Linked DNA regions of Homo sapiens: all the other regions are linked to region 1. The links are contacts of gene promoters, found by promoter capture Hi-C in blood cells and fetal thymus (Javierre and others, 2016). All regions are on one chromosome and are shown on one strand. The core of a region is centred on a gene start or on the middle of the fragment in contact, and the rest is flanking DNA. Distances in the headings are between cores, read along the strand shown. Region 1 holds the start of ANXA1 (annexin A1). Region 2 overlaps TRPM3 (transient receptor potential cation channel subfamily M member 3). Region 3 overlaps KLF9 (KLF transcription factor 9).

Region 1 (3,568 bases), core at 678-3,177:
AATCCCTAGCAAAATGCCTGGAATTTAGGATGTTAATAAGTATTATTGAATGAATATCATGTATCATTGCTAATATTTTAAAAAACATATCTACACTAATTTAATGAACATTTTCTACCCACAACTATAGGATATAAAATACAAATTGAAGTATACTGGTTCTTGATTATCTGGCGATCTGACCTCAAGAAAAACATTTAGCTTCTCCAGAGGGTCTTCGTTTATAAAATAAGAATGTTGAAGTAATTATCATCTAAGATCCATTTACAGCTCTGAAGTGCCAATCTTAAATATTACTTCAAGTAGATGAAGATGAAGAAAATTAGCATAATGAAGGAAGGCATTATATAAATTGGATTGTTCTGAGCTTCCTGATGAAATTCTGTCCAATTTTAAAGGAAAAGGAAATAGTTGACTTCAAAAAACTGTTTATAGTTTATCATTGAAAAATAATAGGTCTGCTGGTTTACCTCTGATTTGAAATGTCGTAAATTAATAGGTCTAGAGAGAGCTAACGTCATATTCAGAAATCAACCTTTGCAGACCTTCTGGTTGAAAAAGTATTTAATAAGCATGAAACTCTGGCTGGTTCCTTAATAATATTATTATTAACTATTTTGTCAACATCTGTTAAATGTTGGCTATGTGCTGGATGTGGTTGAGCCTGGAGCTAGGGTGTTACTGTCACTTTTGGGGAAGAGGCCATTTCAGAATTATGAAACCAACATTTTACCACATTTGAGTCATTTGCAATGTGCATTCTCTTACAGCTACCAAAATACTCCTGTGGAAAGAGGGCAACATTGCTTTCTCAAAGTTTTTACAATCTTTTAGATATAACCAAGGCAAGAAAAATTCCATCCTTGTTAATTAGCTAGCAGTGAACATAAGAAATCAGAACATTTAATAAATATTTAAAATGAACGAACAGAAAAATTCTTGAAGGAACATGTTTAAGAAAAAAATAGCCAGATACATGATTTGTAATCTCACTTTTACAAATATATCCAACACTAGTAAATACTCTTCTTTAGTTTTGCTTTGTGCTTTTCTAAGGAGTTTTATGGCCATTAGCTCATGCAACAATCAAGTGGAATAGCTGTTGGAGGGCCTCACTGACATTCCCCTAGGATAATGTATCTGACACTACCCAGAAAGTATTTCCCTTCTTTTTAGGTTTTCCAGCCAGCACTTGAAAAGACTGTATATGACACAGAGCCTACAAGAAAAGGAATGTGGCCACACCCTCTTTAAATGAAAAAAGTAATAAGCGGACCTTCTTATTTTAAATAGCATAAGCAAATATAACATATATTTTTAAATGTTTATTACAAAGAGCATGATTAGCACTTTGAGGTCTGAATCTATCTTGTTTTCCTTACAAAAGAAGAAAATAAATTATGAAAGTCCTACTATTTTGAAACAGTTCCCTGCAGCCCACTCCTATCACTTTTGTTCTTGCCCCCAAAAAGCAGCCCCCATCACGATTTCTCTGTAAAACACACAGCTCTTGGGAAGAAATATTTCAAGGGGAAGGAAAGGAAAAACACATTCTTTTAAGGCTACCAGAGGGAAAGCACATTCTTCCCTTCTTTCTCATGGTAACTTACCAAGAGTACAATGAGCCAGTATTAAGCAAACTTATCTTATTTTTACTTGTATTTGTTAACTAAGTAGAACAAAAATATTGTAATTTGTGATTCCTAAAATATAAATATCCAATGTAATTCTACAGAAAGATTTATGAATGACTTATCATGTTAAATGCAACTAACCATAAATCCTGTAGAAGCAGTAACATTTAACATAGTGATGAGAAAAGTTTTCAAAACAACCAAAACTAACTAAAAGGAAAACCAAGACTTACCTTTATCTCTACCTTCTTGCAAAGAACTAAAGAGAAATTCTTCTCTGAAGATTTCACACTGGCAGTGGAGACTTGGGCTTCTGATTTTATAGGATTTTAAAGGAAGCCACACCTAGCAACCAGAAGTTAGTAATTGGCTGCCTTCTGTTTGAAGTACATGGCTCAGCTATGTCCAAAAACAAAGTGAAACAAGTCTTGCAAAACTACTCACTAAACCAATTCAACTGGCATTACAAAGGAAAAGAAATGGAAGGGCTGATTTTTCCTCCCTCTTTATTTTGCACTTTTATTTCCAGATGGGATATTTATTTTGCACTTTTATTTTCAGAGTATACATCTGCCCCAATCCTAATACCAGTGATTGGCACACTTTTGTAGTTAAATAGGTTGTAGACTAAAAAGTATGTTACCTTCAAAACTAAACAAACCAACAAACAAAATATTACATTTGAATTCCACCTCCATCACTTATTATTCTGTGACTTTAGGGACATACTTAATTTTTCTGAACCTGTTTTTACTTTTGTTTTGTTGTCTTTTTCCCCCGCTTTTTGTGGAGAATGGGGTCTCGTTATATTGCCCAGGCAGGTCTCAAACTCCTGGGCTCAGGCTATCCTCCTGCCTCTGTCTCCCTAAGAGTTGGAATCACAGGCGTGAGCCACCATGCCTAGCTGTTTTTACTTTTGTATATAGGAGCATTATCTAAGTTGTCTACCCACTAGAATTCTTGTGACAATGGAGAAATAACATATATTTGTAAATTTTAACATTACACAGTGCCGAATAATTTTCTATTTATATTTTTCTTGCCTTAAAAAATAAACGACTTTTGTTCCTAGATATAGCTTGTTGTTATAAATAAGAAATATAGAAGTAATAAAGTTCCAGATTGGCTCAAAATTTTGAACAAAGGTAATGCCAAAAATTTGATCATTATGACATTCAATAAAAGCATTGACATCAGAAGGCCTATCTACATTAATTCTTTTAAATAGAGTCAGTTACATAGAACTATATATATAAACTGTAATATAGATCAGTTATATATACATTTTGATACACATCTTTGACATTGTAGACTAGTTGAACACCAAAACAAGGAACTAGACCTATAAAATGAAAGGATTAATGGAGCAGCAACTATTACAGAACACATTCCATAAGAAATTTCCCACCCAATGGAGGAAAATTGGTTCTGGTAACTTCCATAGTGGTTCATTTTCATTCTTCTTTAAACCCTACAAAGTATTATATGATGTTTCCATTAAAGTGCACAGGTGTAAAATCTCACAGCATTATGGCTCAATTTATGCTGCATTTAGTGGTTTGTTCTTTTTCCTCTTTTCCTCATAGATATTTCACATAAAAAACATGAAGTTTAGGAAGTTAATGAAAATACTTTCTAAAGATTGGCAGTATTTTATAATACATTCTAAGTGCTCGATGCCAATATCAATGAAGTCAACATATCCTGAAGTAGGATGATCATCTAATCTAAATATTTAAGAAAATGTCAATATATGTTTTTACTATCATATGTGTAAGTTGAAAATTAATTAGTTACCTGCTAACAAGTTAAGTTAATTGATATTATTGCAAATTGATCTTGACAGATGTAGACTAACTTTCTAATACCATATTTATGTCATCAGGTGAGAAGGAATAAGATGATTATACAAAATCTGGTTTTCTTTTTTTCTT
Region 2 (3,680 bases), core at 1,117-3,616, 2.6 Mb after region 1:
GGGATTGAGAGGAAACCTGAGCCCTCCCTGGCACGCATTTTCCTTCGCCCTCCATTTCTTACAGTAGGTGGACATAGAAAGGAGTCTGAGAGTCACTGTTGCAGACTGCACAGGACCAACATTCAGCTGCCTTCAGATCTCCCCCAACTAGGTACAGCAGGGCCATTCCCTATTTCATGTAAGGGCATTGAGGATCTGGTGGGGAAAATAGAAATCATGAAGAGAGGGTTTACTTAGTAGATAAGAAACCATCAGGCCAGAGGTGGAATGGATGAGGAGCAATTACTCAGTTTCTTTAATAAATCCAATAAACGATTACAATAAATAATAACGCCTTACTGTTATAAGTTTATCTCCTTGCCTTGGAGCTTGATTTGATCCTCTGAGGTCCTTCCAAAGCCTCCACATGCTGCTTTCCCTGCTCCCACCTCTCGGTGCTCTTTCCTCTTCTCCAGCTACTCCCTGGCATTACTCCAGACCAGGGACCTTCTTGTGCTCACAGGATGTAGCTCTAAGCAGTGCCTGGTGCTTAGAGCATCCTTTCCCCAGAGAGCCACTTAGCCAACTCCCTCATCTGAGGTTGGAGTCTTTGTTCAAATCTTGCCTTCTTAGTGTGGCTTACCACCACCACCCGTGGGCTTCCCGCATCACACCTGATCCTTCCTACCCTGTATTCTGTACTTTCTCCCACAGCATTTATCACCTACTGACAGCCTGCTTAGCTTATTTATCTATTATGCTATTGTTTCTTTTCTGTCCATCCACTATCACCACCACCATCCCTTTCCCAGTATAGATAGTCTAGGGGCAGGGATCTTTGATGTTTCGCTCACTGATGCATCCCGAGCACTTAGAATAGTGCCTGGTACACAATAGGGGCTCCATAAATACCTGTTGAATGAATGATGAGGGAAGCTGGAAATGTGTCATCATCACTGTTATTAACACTATTTCTATTATCATCATTAGGTCAGGCTTAGAAATGAGGACACTGAGGCTCAGACACATCAAAGGACTTACCCATAGGACATAGATGGCAAAATGCCAGATCTAAGTCTCAATCTGAACCTACCCAAGGTTAGTGCCTTGTGTCTAGTGACTTCACAAAATGATTTAGTAATGTGGGATAATGTGATTATTTAAAATATAATTTAAAAAATGATGAACAGCAAAGTGCCTTGCCTATTCTTTCCCTCTTGGCCCGCCCCCGCCCCCACCGCAATTCACTTGATTGGTATCTCAGTTTATTATTTTTTAACAGATAAATCTAGGCTGGGCACAGTGGCTCATGCCTGTAATCCCAGCACTTTGGGAGGCCAAGGTGGGTGGATCACATGAGGTCAGCGGTTCGAGACCAGCCTGACCAACATGGCAAAACCTTGTCTCTACTAAAAATACAAAATCAGTTGGGCATGGTAGCTTGTGCCTGTAATCCCAGCTACTTGGGAGGCTGAGGCAGGAGAATCACTTGAACCCAGGAGTTGGAGGTTGCAGTGAGCTGAGATCACACCATTGCACTCCAGCCTGAGCAACAAGAGCAAAACTCTGTCTCAAAAAAAAAATAAAAATAAAAACAGATAAATCTGCCAAGATGAAAATGTTTATTTGTTGTATTTTAACTGACGTGTCAATGTTGCTCTGGGAAAGAATAACGTTGTTAGCCCACTATACAAGGGTGTGCTGTCACCCAACTATTTTATCATATTCCTAGCAGTTCATATGCAGCATACATTTGGACACATAGTCCCAACACAAGAGCCAACAGCTGCTTAGATTCTAAGCGGAATGTGGACTGCCTATTGTCTGGATTCTTGGTTGTTTGAGGAGCATCACTTGAAGCGTGAAAAGCTCAAGTTTTAACAGTAAACAGAGCTTGGGATCCAGAGGGCACAGAGAGGAATTAGTGCCTGCAGATCAGAGAGATTCGAGCCTGAACCGTGAGCTGTAAGTACAGATGTGTTTCTTGCATTGTCTCTTACCAGGGGATTTGTAAATAATGTCAGCAGGAACTTATTTGCTTATATACGCATTCCTGAATATTAGGAGCCACATTGATCATTTCTGTAGATATCATATAACCCCTCAGGCACAATGCAATGGGAGTCGACAAGAGCCATAGATTATTTCTTTGGAGGTGGTGTAGCCTCATGTCCCCTGATGTGCATTTACACATAGACATGCAGTCTGGCTCACTGGACTGATCCTTCCAGGCACAGAGAGCCCTGATATGAGGTTGCTGGTTCTTTTCCTAAGAAGGCCCCTCTTGAAGAGGGCCCTGGCTCTTCCCTCTTTGAATACTCTAATACCCTAAATATGCATGGGCTTCTGAAAAGTAATACAATTCCATTTTAAACAGAAACAACAAGCATATTCCTTAGTGTGTGGCCTGTAGGCTGAGGTAGTGTGGACTCACAGGGAAAACCTTCCACAGTAAAGGCAATGAGAATGGACTCCAGCTCCCTTCACCTACAGGGGAAGGGGTGCCTCCTCCTGCCCTCATTGCTCAGAAAGGTGTATTGTTGCGTGTCAGGGAGTTGTGATGAATTATAGGTAGGTGGACAGCAACACAAAAATCTGAAAGAGTAACTTATTTTATGTTTTCTCTGAAATTTTTCTGTTGTTTTGGTTTGAAGAAGGAAAGAACTTATCTAATCCTATTTCGTATATGCAAATATCAAAAGGAAGGTGTAATGATGATGATGAGGCAAGCCCTGAGTAAAACTGAGTTAAACACAATTATTTCCATTCTTCTAACCCTTCCCAGAGCTTCCCTCTCCCTTCTCACAGCCCCTCCCTTCTCTGATGAAACTACTAGGCAAGGAAACTGATTCCTTCTGAAGTCTTAGCGACTATGTTCTCAACCAGAGAAAAATGTTGATTGTAAGAAAACAAAACTACACAGAGTAGGTTCAATAAAGACTGACTGTAAGTGCCTAAGAGAAAACCACAGAGGCATTCAAAGACAGGAAGCAGAGCACGACATGCGTGAGCTGACTGGGAACAAAACCAGAAGTGGTTTTGTAAAGTCAGAATCAGAAGACATGACCACACTCATCTGCTTTTCTCTATACTTCTCTCCTGCCTCAATCAATAATCAATCAATCATTTCTCTCTTTCTCTCTTGCTCTCTCTCCCATTTCCTTTCTCCCTTCCTCCACCATCCCTCTCTCATATGGCTTGCTTTACATGACCCAGTGAGGTCAGGCTCTATATGTTCTTTAAGTACATGCCATCATCTAACTTAAGTCTCTGCACTTCTGTTTTATTTCTAAACACAAAGAGTCTGATTAGTCACTGGCCATTCAATGAACTCACTCCTTCTTGGTCAATGGTGGAATCTGCTCCAATCATCTGTAGCCTGAATTGGGTGAAAGGAGAAGTGAAGAAATGAGGAAAGGACTTTGTCAGCCTGAAGGACGTAGGGCTACCTCTTCCAGCTGTGAGCAGGGCAAGGGAAATTTAGCTTGTTTATCAGGTATCTATCAACACAAAAATGATACAGGAAAAACCACCCTAGAATTCAGAACTTAACGCCATAAGCACGTATTGAGCTCAGAAGACTGAGAGTTGGCTGCATGGTTCTTCTGGTCTGGGCTGGGCTCAATCACCTGCCAGGAGGTCAGCGGGCTATCACCTCCTCCAGAACAGCCTCAGCTCAGAAAACAAGCACCTAGAAGCAA
Region 3 (3,688 bases), core at 148-2,647, 2.8 Mb after region 1:
AAAGTCTCTATTCCAGGATTCTAAAAATGCTCACCTATATTTTATCGTTATGGCTTTATTTTTTACATTTACATTTATAGCCCATTTGGAAATCATTTGAGTGAAAAGTATGAGGTAGGGACTAAGATTTAATTTTTTTCTTTTACCTGACATCTAAGCCACTTACTGAATTAAACATTTTCTGTTTCACTGATTTGAAATACCCCATTTACCATGTACAGAATCCCTATAGATTCTTAAGGTTATTTTCAGACCCTACTCTGTTCCACTGATTTGTCTTTTCCTGTGCTGCTATCTCACTATCTTAATTATTACAGCTTTAATAATCCATTTTAATAACTAGTATTGCAAGTGCTCACTTATTATTTGTTCTTCCGCAAAATTTTCTTGGCAAGTTGGGCATGTTTATTCTTCCAAATGAACTTCAGAAATAACTTTGTCAAGTTCTAGAAAAAGAAATTCTTACGGTGTGTGTTAATTCCGTAGATGAATTTGTACAGAATTGCCATATTCACACCATTGAGCCTTACCATCCAAAGGCATGGCAAGCATTTTGTTTGTTCATTTTCTTTTATATTGAGGCTTTATGCATTTCTTCACCAAGGTCCTGAACTTTTATTGTTAGGCTTATTCTGACTGGTTATGGCTGGCATATAAGAAAGCCAGTGCTCTTTTGTACAGTTACATCTGTGAATGCACCTTTAATTTAGATTAGATTTTTCAGTTATCTTGAATTTTTTCAAAGAGAAAGTTGTGTCAACTGCAAATAATTCTTATTTTATAACCCCCCCTTCTTCTCACCATTTACTTCTTATTTTATCTAATTGCACTCATTAGTATTTCCTGGAAAATGTTAAATTATAGCAATGGGAGCGGGTGTCCATTTATGCTTTGGGCTAGACTTTAGTAGTTATACTACCTTTATTTTACTGTTGACCTTGCAGAGGAAAGGTTTCAGAGCTGATCTTTTATACTGCTGAGGAATTATTTTATTTTCCTGAAAGCTTTTATTAGGGATGGTTGTTCAATTTTATCATATACTATTTTGTACACGATAAGAGTGTGTATATGATATTAAATGATACTAAATGTGTGTGTGTGTGTGTGTGTATGAGCTGTTAAATGGGGGAATAATATCAGTATGATTTAATAATATCAAATTGTCCTTTTTAAAATTACATTTCTTTTGTAGAGTTGGGGTGTTACTGTGTTGCCCAGATTGGTTTTGATCTCCTGGGCTCAAGCAGTCCTCCCATCTCAGCCTCCCAAAGTGCTGGGATTACAGGCGTGAGCTACCACAGCCAGCCCAAATTCTTCTTTTATCTATGGAATCCTAGTGCTGTTTTTGCAATCAGAAACCACTCTTTTTTTTTTTTTTTTTTTTGAGACAGGGTCTCAGTCTCACTCTCACCCAGGCTGCAGTGCAGTGGCACAATCATAGCTCACTGCAGCCTCAACCTTTGGGCTCAAGCAATCTTCCCGCCTCAGCCTCCCAAGTATCTGGGACCACAGGCAAGCACCACTACGCCTGGCTAATTTGTTGTATTTTTGGTAGAGATGGGGTTTCACCACATTGCCCAGGCTGGTCTTGAACTTCTGTGTTCAAGTGATCCATCTTGAGCGGCTGAGCATTATTTTTCTTCTAGAAGAAGTCTTGATTTTCTACATCTGCAAGAAACTTTAATTCTTAATTGGCACTGTTTGAGCTCTGTTCTGAAAAGGAGGCCTAAATCCCTTAGATTTGTTTTTTACCAGATTGGTTTACTTTTGCTAGATGCAATGGAAGCTTTTGATTTTGTATTTTTGACTTTCCTGTCTCCATTAAAGTTAGACCCATCCCTGGACTTGGGTGGGGCAGGGAAGATGAGAAGAACCAGGTAGGAAAGAGACGACATTCAGATGGCAGGCCTCCCTGACCCCAGGCAGGACTTCAGTGGCAGCCTGGACAGCTCAGGGAGTCTGGGGAGGGTTGCCTATGTCCAGTGAGCAAGCTTGGCACTTGGCAAGTACCCGGTCTCTGTCTTCTCTATGGAGAACTCACCTCCATTCGTTTCAGGACTGCCCACAAAAAAATGGGCTTCATTTGGCATCATCAACTAATCAGCAGTCGAGGAGGCTCCCTCTCAAAAGCAGCAAGTGTCCTTTTGTGCTAAGTAGGCAAGCACATAGCCAGGGGGCCCCAGTCCACTGTTCTTGCACCCTCCGTAGGCCCAGGAGAATTCTGGAGGCCTGATGACTGTCTCTGCAAAGGAAGTCTTTTACACATTGTGCGCAGTGTTCAGTAGCTTTTTTGATCACATTTATTTTATACTCTGAGCTGAGTCAGTCAGCAAGAGGTGCTTAGCTTGTTACTGAAAGGGGCGGGGAGTGGTATATAAATAATGAGAACTCAGAGAAACTTGTGCTGTTAACAGCTCTGCTCCAGTAAAGTGGAGTTTATTGTGTCACTGCCTCTGGGTGTGTTTTCCTGTGAAGGCCAGAAATAATGCAGTGGTACAAGTGTGTTGGGTATTTTTTTCCCTATCCCCAGGAGGATGGTAACTCTCTCATTAATACTAAAGACAGGTTTAAAGATTCTCTAATTGATAGTTGCATTGCTGTGTGATTTGTTCAGCGTGAAGGCTGACCATTCTCCTTTAGACCTTAGCACCGAGCCTCAAAGAGAGGGCCTGACTTGGTTTCCCCCAGGCTGCCAGACGAAGGTGGAGTGACCGTCTCTCTAGGCCAGTCCTCTCCTCCTCTGTAGATCATCTCTGGTCCCATTCAGCCTTAATTCTGTTCTCGTCTACATGTGACTTCCCCATTCCATGCTTTCTTAAGTGCAAAACATCTATCATTTTCTAAATAATACCTTATTATATGACTGTCATTAACTTATATGCTGGGATGTTAGATTCAACATCATGGCATGTTAGATCCAAACTCTCCACTGTATTAAAAAGGTGGGAGATTTTTCAAAGGGCTACAAATTGTAGGTCCCTAAGCAGAATCCAGCCTGCGTACACACCACTGGGTGGCACCATAATTTATAATGTTGAAATTGAATGCCTCTAAGTAGGGGAAGCACCCTGTTCAGTTCACCATGGAATCCATTATGATCCATGATTGAATGCACCTGCTCCCACCCTGTCCCCGACCTGTGTCTGGCTCCTGAAGACATTTGAATTTACAAATTCTGGTGGCCAGTTAGAAGTTCAAGTCCTCTGTTATTTGTTTATTTACTTGAGACAGGGTCTCACTCTGTTGCCCAGACTGGAGTGCAGTGGCGTGATCTTGGCTCACCACAACCTCCGCCCCTCGGGTTCAAGCGATTCTCATGCCTCATCCCCAGTAGCTGGGATTATAGGTGTGCAACGCCACACCCAGCTTCAAGTCTTTTGATTGAGATCAGGAATCAACCAACTTTTTGCAAAAGGTCCTGATAGTAAATATTTTCAGCTTTGCAGGCTGTACAGTCTCTGTGGGCAACTGCTCAACACTGCTGTTTTGAGAATGCAGCTGTAGATAATACTTAAACCAATGAGCATGGCTGTTTCCAATAAAACTATATGCAGACAAGGAAATTTTAATTTCATATAACTTTCTCCTGTCATGAAATATTCTTTTAATTTTTTTCAACCACTTGGTAAAAACCGAATATAAGAATGGTATAAGCTATTCTTAGCTCATGGCAGGCCAGATTTGGCCA

Evidence for each region. Contacts are between HindIII fragments. The CHiCAGO score rates a contact against its expected background, and 5 or more counts as called.
Region 2: a fragment that was not itself captured here is called in contact with the fragment with the promoter of ANXA1 in region 1 in 3 of 17 cell types (non-activated CD4 T cells, activated CD4 T cells and naive CD8 T cells); the score reaches 6.7 in non-activated CD4 T cells.
Region 3: a fragment that was not itself captured here is called in contact with the fragment with the promoter of ANXA1 in region 1 in 1 of 17 cell types (total CD4 T cells); the score reaches 5.1 in total CD4 T cells.

What each region holds. Positions count from the first base shown.
Region 1 is chr9:73,150,224-73,153,791 of GRCh38, reverse strand. It overlaps ANXA1 (annexin A1), which reads right to left and starts at 1,927. Exons shown (of 13, transcript NM_000700.3): 1 at 1,868-1,927. The HindIII fragment of the contact is 9,458 bases long and covers 1-3,568 here.
Region 2 is chr9:70,563,183-70,566,862 of GRCh38, reverse strand. The region is part of intron 22 of TRPM3 (transient receptor potential cation channel subfamily M member 3); the gene reads left to right. Among named protein-coding and RNA genes, the nearest start is that of KLF9, 150 kb to the right of the region's middle. The HindIII fragment of the contact is 5,245 bases long and covers 1-3,680 here.
Region 3 is chr9:70,391,721-70,395,408 of GRCh38, reverse strand. The region is part of intron 1 of KLF9 (KLF transcription factor 9); the gene reads left to right. LOC124900273 (a long non-coding RNA gene) reads left to right here. Exons shown (of 2, transcript XR_007061576.1): 2 at 1-2,352. Among named protein-coding and RNA genes, the nearest start is that of KLF9-DT, 21 kb to the left of the region's middle. The HindIII fragment of the contact is 782 bases long and covers 1,007-1,788 here.